2 separate regions of the Homo sapiens genome follow, and region 2 is linked to region 1. Evidence: promoter capture Hi-C in 16 types of primary human blood cells and fetal thymus (Javierre and others, 2016). All regions are on one chromosome and are shown on one strand. The core of a region is centred on a gene start or on the middle of the fragment in contact, and the rest is flanking DNA. Distances in the headings are between cores, read along the strand shown. Region 1 holds the start of STAT4 (signal transducer and activator of transcription 4). Region 2 overlaps NABP1 (nucleic acid binding protein 1).

Region 1 (3,959 bases), core at 598-3,097:
TCTAAGTCAAGTAAAAACACCAAACCCCCTTTTACATGATTAATCACCATAACATTTCAACATATCTCATAGATAGGCTAAGGTTTCCTTTTGCCTATAGAACACCAGGGTAATTTCATATATTTCATATACATATTCTTTGGGTTTTAAGTAGAATCATTTTGAGCACCTTTTCCCTGAGCTCCTGGTAAATGACTTAAAATTTATAAAAAAACGTGTTGCCAATGTTTTGCTAAAGAGAAAGCAAGTGGGAAAAGAAGTAATGTTTTATTTGCATATCATTTTATATTTATGAAAACCTTTACACTTTACAATTCTAGGCATATTGTAAATGCTCAATCAATGCTTGTTAAATGAAGAATGAGTGGCACTCCTGACATTGCTATGAATATGGTAGGTGGATATAAGTAGTATGTCAACTTTAAAAAGGAAAAACTTGAAGATCAAATAGGCGAAATGACGCCTGCCTAATGTGTGAGGCTTCTAAGGGACAACCTGAGGTTTCCTGAGTCTGAACCATTTGTTTTTCCAGATATCGGATGTATATATATTCCATCGGATGTGTATATATTCCACACAAAATTGGAACATTTGTTCTCATGCTACTATCAACATTGTCCTATCTATCAATTTATTTTAGTTAATGACAACAGAGAACATGAGTTGAAAATAGCATTACAGTTTTTCATCATACTATTGTTAAACCCCCGCTATGATTTGGATGAAAAATCTATTTTCTAACTAAAACTTACAGGTAGATGGGAGGAATAAGTTCTAGTGCTGTAACACTAGGATGAATATGGTTAACAATAACTTAGTGTATATTTTCAAAAAGCTAAGAGGATTTTGAATGTTCACAACACAAAGTAATGATAAATGTTTGAGGTGATGGATATGCTGAATATCCTTTGATCATAACACATTGTTCATATTTATTGAAATATCACTGTATATTCCATAAATATTTACAATTGTGTGTCAAATGAAAATAAAAGGAAAATTAAAAAAAATAAAAATAAACACCGAAAAAAATCACTACTAAGATCTGAGTCTTTCGGAGAGCTGAATTCAAAGCTGAAAAAAGGAAGAAGAAGGAATACATAGTCCTAGGACATTTTCTATTGCAGCCTCTGGGAACGCCTTTAGACATCCTTCAGCAGGTTTCTTTGCTTTCACTCTCTAGGGGCTACTTCTTTCTCATGAAAACTGTGACGTTGCTTCTGAAAACTCAGTGCCTGTCTGTCCTTTTTGCGTGCATTTCCTAGAAGATCCCACTAAAGGGGCATTTTGTCCCACCGTCTGTGAGCTGGTGGTGCCGCTTTGGCTCTGTGGCCTGTAGCTTGCAAAAGGAGATGACCTGCCCTAAAATGTCACTCGCGCCCATCAAAGCCACAGTCACCGGCTGCCGTAGCTGCAAGCTTTTTTCTGAAATCCAGGTACGCTAATCTAAAGTCAGACATCACAGCTCTAGAGAAGCTGGCTAAGAAAGTGAAGAGGGGCTCACTTTCAGCCTCCGCGAGGACACACCTCCGCAGCCGCCGCAGCTCCCCTGGCCCCCGCAGGGAGATTCGCCCGGGCACCGTGGCGCGGGCCTGCGGAGCGGTTTCCGCGGAGAACCCGTGCCAGGGCGCATCTGTGGGTCGTGGAGTCGGGCGCTTCCTTCTATAATAAGCCTCCTCAGGAAGGTTAAAATGAAGCAATTGTCAAAACGCCAAGGGAAAGCAAAGCTTCAGAGTATCCTGCATAATAAGCATGTCCTCCTTACAAGAGGCAGCCAGAAGGTGTGGTCTGGCCACTTACCTAGCGCTCTCTCAGCACAGGTCCCAGGCAGTGCTCAAGTCCAAAGTCAGAAGCGCCCCTCACAGTCCCTAGGAGAAAGCCGCTGACGCCATCATCAGTAGGGGATTTGCATTTCTCCTCCCACTTGAGGCTTTCCTGTGCGTCAGTGTTCGAGTCTCTGGGACTTTACTTGGGTCAGTTCCCACCCACTCTATTCTAGAAATGCTAACACGCAGAAACTGCCAGGCTGGAGCCCCTTCACCGGGCGTCCTCTTCCCTCTTATCCCTCCCAGCGGCTCTCGCAACTGCAGGTGGCTCAGCAGTGCCAGGAAAAAGGGGAGGGGCGGGGCATACATTTTCTTCAGTGGTTTCCTTAGACAATCTGAGATCCTCTGCAGAGTTACTTACCTGGAGCCCAGTTCTTCAGCTTCCTCTCTCCCTAGTATAAGGCTCCACTCAGCCTGGTGAACCACCCCTGGGATGGAAGGGATGGGTAGCCAGGATCAAAACACCAAACTCATAGACCTTACTGGGCTCCAATTCCAGCGGGGTCCGCTCACTCCGACGAGGGTGACCTGACCCAGAGGGTTGGGCCAAGTCCTGGGTAGGCCACCAGTGCTTGCCCTTCCTGACCTAGCCTCCTCCTACTCTCCTTGAGTAGCCTTGCCCCTGGTTGCTACGGTGCGTTCTTCTCCCTTTGTGACATCAGCCTGTTCTAGAATCACAGAGTTGGAGGAAGTCTTGGTCCCATCTAATGCTAAATCCTCTTTCATATCTGAAGAGACCCAGTGAGGTGACCAAGAGGACTCAATAAGTTAGCCACGGAGCCCGATAATAGCCCAGGTGTTTCCCTTCCCACTTCAGTGGTCTTTTCATTTCATCTCCTTGTAGTTAGCTCTTAACCCCTTGATTCACAGTAGGGGTTCAATAAAATAAAGAGAAGTCCAGGCGTGTGGCTCACACCTGTAATCCTAGCACTTTGGGAGGCTGAAGTGGAAGGACTCCTTGAGCCCAGGAGTTTGAGACCAGCCCAGGCAACACAGTAAAATCCCACCGTATATTAAAAAATCAATAAAAATGTTTAAGAAAGTAAAAATAGTAAAACAAAGACAAAAATAAAGACAGACAGACAGACTGAAAGAAAGGTAGAAAGTGTCACTCAATTTGGTTATACACATGCTTAGAGCAATATACCAAGGTGAAAGGCCTGCCTCCCTCTTCCCTGACGGGTTTCACACAGGTACACCCTCTGGATTCTTCTCTCCCAGGTGACATTATCATGTGCTTAAACTTACCACCCACCCCCAAATAGGTCAATCAATCCAAAGTCACACTTTCCATATCACTGTAAATTTCCTGGTTAGGTAGGCCTGGTCCCCACTGCTTGTTGAGCAGGCAGTTTCCAGGAGCTTATGCTGCTCTGACCCTACATAAGAAAGTGCCAATTTCAGGCTATTCCATAAGCTACTAAGCAAAGTCTGATTTTCTTCTGGAGAAGCTGTCACTGCCTATAGGAAAAAAATCCAAATTCTTGGCAGTTTAAGTTCTGTACAGTTTGGTCCCAACCTATCCAGGAAACTTTTCTCCCCTATAAGAGCCCATGATGTGACCCAAGCAGTCACCTCAGCTGCCCAGATTAACCTCATATTTCACTACCGAGGCTTTCTTCAACTGGATATTCCTCCCTGAGCCTACCTACTTAGTGAAATCCTATAGTTCTCAGTGAAGACTTCCCGATGACCTGAACCCACAGCAATGTTTCCCTGCTCCAAATTCTTCATACTTCCTGTCCAAACCAGCGCTCTCCAAGAGAAATAAAATGTAAGCCACATATGTAATTGTAAATTTTCTCATAGCCATATTAAAAAGGAAAAAAGCACAGGTGAAATTAATTTTAATATTGTAAATAACCCAATATATACAAGAATCTTAACATTTTGGCATATAATCAATATAAAAAATTATCAATAAGATACTTTGCATTCCTTATTTCATACTCAATCTCTGAAGTCTGGTGTATATTTAGCACTTACAGGGCATGTCAGTTAGGACTAGCCACATTCCAAGCCACATATGGCTAGTGGCTGCCGTGTTGGACAGTGCACATCTAGACCACTTATTTAGCACTTTTCACTTCCTGCCTCATAGTGTTAGTCACACTGGTTTTACATGTCCTTATC
Region 2 (3,959 bases), core at 703-3,202, 530 kb after region 1:
TCAGGATTCTGTCCTGACCTTCATGTATTCATACAGAGGTGTTGATAATAATGGAGGTCAGTTACGTGAAAAACCGTTAGAGGTCACTCATTTCTTAATGACTGCTCTTTGTCAGGGTCAGTCGAGGATTTACCAAAACTGGTTCTGATTTGTCTTCAGTATGGTGAGGAGTAATAAAATGCTTCTTTGTAATGTTAGTACACATTATATGGTCAACTTACAGGAAGCACTTGGATAAACTGGTGGCTATGTAGCCTGTTGTTATTATTTATTGCCTAGAAACCACTCTTAACCCTAAATGATTATCTTTGCAGATCCACAGTGATCGATCAAAAGAGGGACTGAATGGGAGTGGGTGAATGGATCGGTGCAAATCCATTACCACTGCTGGAGAAACCACCCTGGAACCCTAAACATGGTTCACTCTCATGTTATTTTTCCTTTGATCAGCTTTTGTGGAAAAACAGGACAGAGATGTTTTTGTGTCCTTGATTTTTGATGTGATTTTTTTTTCAGCACTAAAGAAGAATTTAAATACAAAATAGAATGTTATATATCTTGTAGACAGTCAAATATTTGATGTTTTATGGGACATAATCATTTGGGAAGTTTTTGTTGTAAATGAAGAGTTAGTTTGTTGCTATTAATTTGTTTGACACATAAGTTCATTCCTAAAAGTTAGAGATGTTACATAAAGAAGGGTTGAGGACTTTATTTCAGAAGTCATTTAATTTTTTCTTTATTTTCTTTCAGATTTTGTATGGTTTATTCAGAAGTGCCAAATTTCAGTGAACCCAACCCAGATTATCGAGGACAGCAGAACAAAGGGGTAATTGTGTAGTATACTTTTATGATTAGGCTAATTTTGACTGTGTTATAATTCTATGATTAGGCTAGCCCTGTTGATACTTAGTATAAAGAAGATAATTTTTAAAAGGATACTTAATTTTTATTGTATGTTTTGTGAGGATATGTATCTGAGGTGTCATCTACTAGATATATGTGCCATTTTGCACTTTGTGGTGTGCTGAGTAATTATCAGGAAATAGGATGTAACAGAGCTCTGAAAGGTTTGGGAAACGTTTCTTAACATTATAACCTTTAATGACCTAGGAAAAATCTTTAAAAAATTTGTTAATTAAAAAAAAAAAAAAAGCCAAACCCAAAACTTTAAAAAAGAAAGGATATAATAATGTTGTAATAATATAATTGTGTTTTTATTCTCGTTTGGTTAAATTAAAAACTTTTTTTTAGGCACAGAGTGAACAGAAGAATAATTCCATGAATAGTAATATGGGTACAGGTACATTTGGACCAGTGGGTAAGATTTTGTTTGTGTGTTTCATTTGTGATCAGGTATAAGAATGAAGAGAGCTGTAAAGATTCACGTGAAAAGCAACGTCTTTAGGCATAAATTAGTGATAAAGGTGAACTACCAGTAAACAGGGAATCCCCAAAGGGCTGATTTTCTAGAAAGTTGATAAACTTAAGCCAGTTTATTGAGAATTCTAAGTTTTTGTGATGTCCGTGAAGAGATACCATGCTATTTTTTTTTTATTGATTCCTATAAAATTTCTATAATCTAGTGATTACTTATAGTAGATGCAGAATTACTGGTTATTTTGGTGCACTGAAAGCGTTTTATCTTTAGAGTCATAGTTCACCTTAATTTTTCACATACAAGTAGCTGCTGCTTTAAAAGATGAGCTGAGCCGTTTAAAGGCTAGTGACCCTCAGATGTCATTTAACATGACCCCCAGACATCATGTTCATGATCCTTGTAGCTCTGTTAAAGGTCTTCTGAAGTCTTTTTTCTTAAATATATGAGGAAAAGTCAGTCTTTTGTGATTAGAGTTCATTAGGATGGCTCATGTTTTGGTTTTGTTTTGTTTTTGAGACAGGGTCTTACGCTGTTGCCCAGACTGGAGTGCAGTGGCGTGATCTTGGCTCATCGCAACCTCCACCTCGCAGGCTCAAGTGATTCTCCTGCCTCAGCCTCCCAAGTAGCTGGGATTACAGATGTGCACCACTACCACCCAGCTAATTTTTATATTTTTAATAGAGATGGGATTTCACCATATGGGCCAGGCTAGTCTCGAACTCCTGACCTCAAATGATCCACCTGCCTCGGCGTCCTAAAGTGCTGGGATTACATACAGGCGTGAGCCACTGAACCTGGCCAGCTCATGTTTTATTTGACTCGAAGGCTACATGTCTTGGCATTGCTGATCACATTGTGGGAAACGCTGCCTTTGCCTTTAAAAAGTTAGAATAACATTGTCTGTTTTGAGATATTAATCATATTTGAGCCAAATTCCAATATTCACTATTTTGCCCTTTCTTTTTCTTTTATAGTGTAGGCAATGCATTTTTTTACTCTATTAATTTCTAATTTTGATGCCCAAGTTGGCTTTTTTCTCTCTATTAATACAGCATCAAGTTAGCATATTTATAGCAATACATTTGGAAAAACTTAGAGCCCACATTGTTTTTTTTTTCTGTATAAAAATAAAAGTGTGTGCTTTAATATTTTTAAGCATTAATAACATGTTGGCACTTAAGATAGTTCTACTTCTATAGACTACCTCTGAAAATAGTGATGAATTTTTGTATTCTTTTTTAGGAAATGGTGTTCACACTGGCCCTGAATCAAGGGAACACCAGTTTTCACATGCTGGCAGAAGCAATGGCCGGGGACTTATAAATCCACAACTACAAGGAACAGCTAGTAATCAAACAGTGATGACCACAATAAGTAATGGCAGGGACCCTCGGAGAGCCTTTAAAAGATGACCTATGCTAAATACTCATGTGTAGTTTTTATACTACATGCCCTACTTGAACACTTATTGCACTTTTATTTATTGTTAACTGTGAAAAGTACGTCCTTTATTGGGTTTCCTTTTATATTCTTGGTTTGTTAAGAAGAATGGTTTGTTTTTATAGCAAAACTGTTAAGCTGCTCGAGTCTCCTGTTGAAGAATGGGAACACTGAAAAGTAGGGGCATTTATTTTTAGAGTAAAAAGATTATTGGATAGCCTTTAAAAAACCTGCACCCATTTCATGGGTGAGTTACTTAAGACATCAGCTTTATAGCCTCTATGAGTCTATCTTCTGTATAAGTTTTGTAATATTTAACATAAGGCTTAATGGGAGATGTTCTTTTGTCTTGTATTCAGATATTGCCAACTAAAGCAATAACCATCAAAAAACACAAGAACTTGTCAATGCTAGCAGTAATTTTTGAGTGTTTGTGGCTCTCGGAATGATTGACTTCGTTCAGTGACTACTATTAAGATTTTCCAAGGACTGACTCATCCCAAATTTTTGTTGTATTACCAAAAAAACAGATTCCTTATCAGAATTTGGAATAGAATGTGATCTCTATTGCAACAAGTAATTTTAAAAGAAAGCTACATTTATTTTAGAGTAGTGCTCCTAACATGTATTATCAACTTTGTGGATTACATTGGAGGAAAATTTAAAACTGGGGCCTTGAATATTTATTTTTTGAAACTACCATGTTAAATACTGAAGTATAATTTGGGGGAGTTATAAAGTTATGATAAACATTCATCTGATTATTTTAAACAATAGTTGTGGTAGATAAACATACTGGAGGTGAGTCAAATTGAATTCATATAGTAACATGCAGTCTGAAGTCCTAGTTACTTAATAGGTACTCAGCCTGGAGTGAAAATCCTGGGTACTGACTTTGAGAGGAGTGAGTGTGCATGTTGTCAAAGTTTCTGAACACAGTTCACATAGCCTTATTAGCAAAAGTTTTAAGAAATGGCTCTATCAAAGAAGCAATTGCAGCTTTATTCAGAAATATAAAAGTGGAATTTATGTACATGTCATAAGTGGTACCCACTTCCCCTTTTTACTGTAGGGTGGATAACTCTTAGGATTTAACTCTTTGAATATTATCTCTTGAATAAAGCATGTGTTAATGTTA

Evidence for each region. The method cuts DNA at HindIII sites, captures the fragments that hold promoters and counts their contacts. A CHiCAGO score of 5 or more calls a contact.
Region 2: a fragment that was not itself captured here is called in contact with the fragment with the promoter of STAT4 in region 1 in 2 of 17 cell types (total CD8 T cells and naive CD8 T cells); the score reaches 6.8 in total CD8 T cells.

Annotation. Positions count from the first base shown.
Region 1 is chr2:191,149,147-191,153,105 of GRCh38, forward strand. STAT4 (signal transducer and activator of transcription 4) reads right to left here and starts at 1,848. Exons shown (of 24, transcript NM_003151.4): 1 at 1,801-1,848. RefSeq lists a silencer at 1,488-1,537 and enhancers at 2,008-2,057, 2,188-2,267. The HindIII fragment of the contact is 5,548 bases long and covers 1,726-3,959 here.
Region 2 is chr2:191,682,976-191,686,934 of GRCh38, forward strand. It overlaps NABP1 (nucleic acid binding protein 1), which reads left to right. Exons shown (of 6, transcript NM_001031716.5): 4 at 754-829; 5 at 1,255-1,321; 6 at 2,624-3,959. The coding sequence ends at 2,793. Among named protein-coding and RNA genes, the nearest start is that of NABP1, 6.8 kb to the left of the region's middle. The HindIII fragment of the contact is 6,591 bases long and covers 1-3,959 here.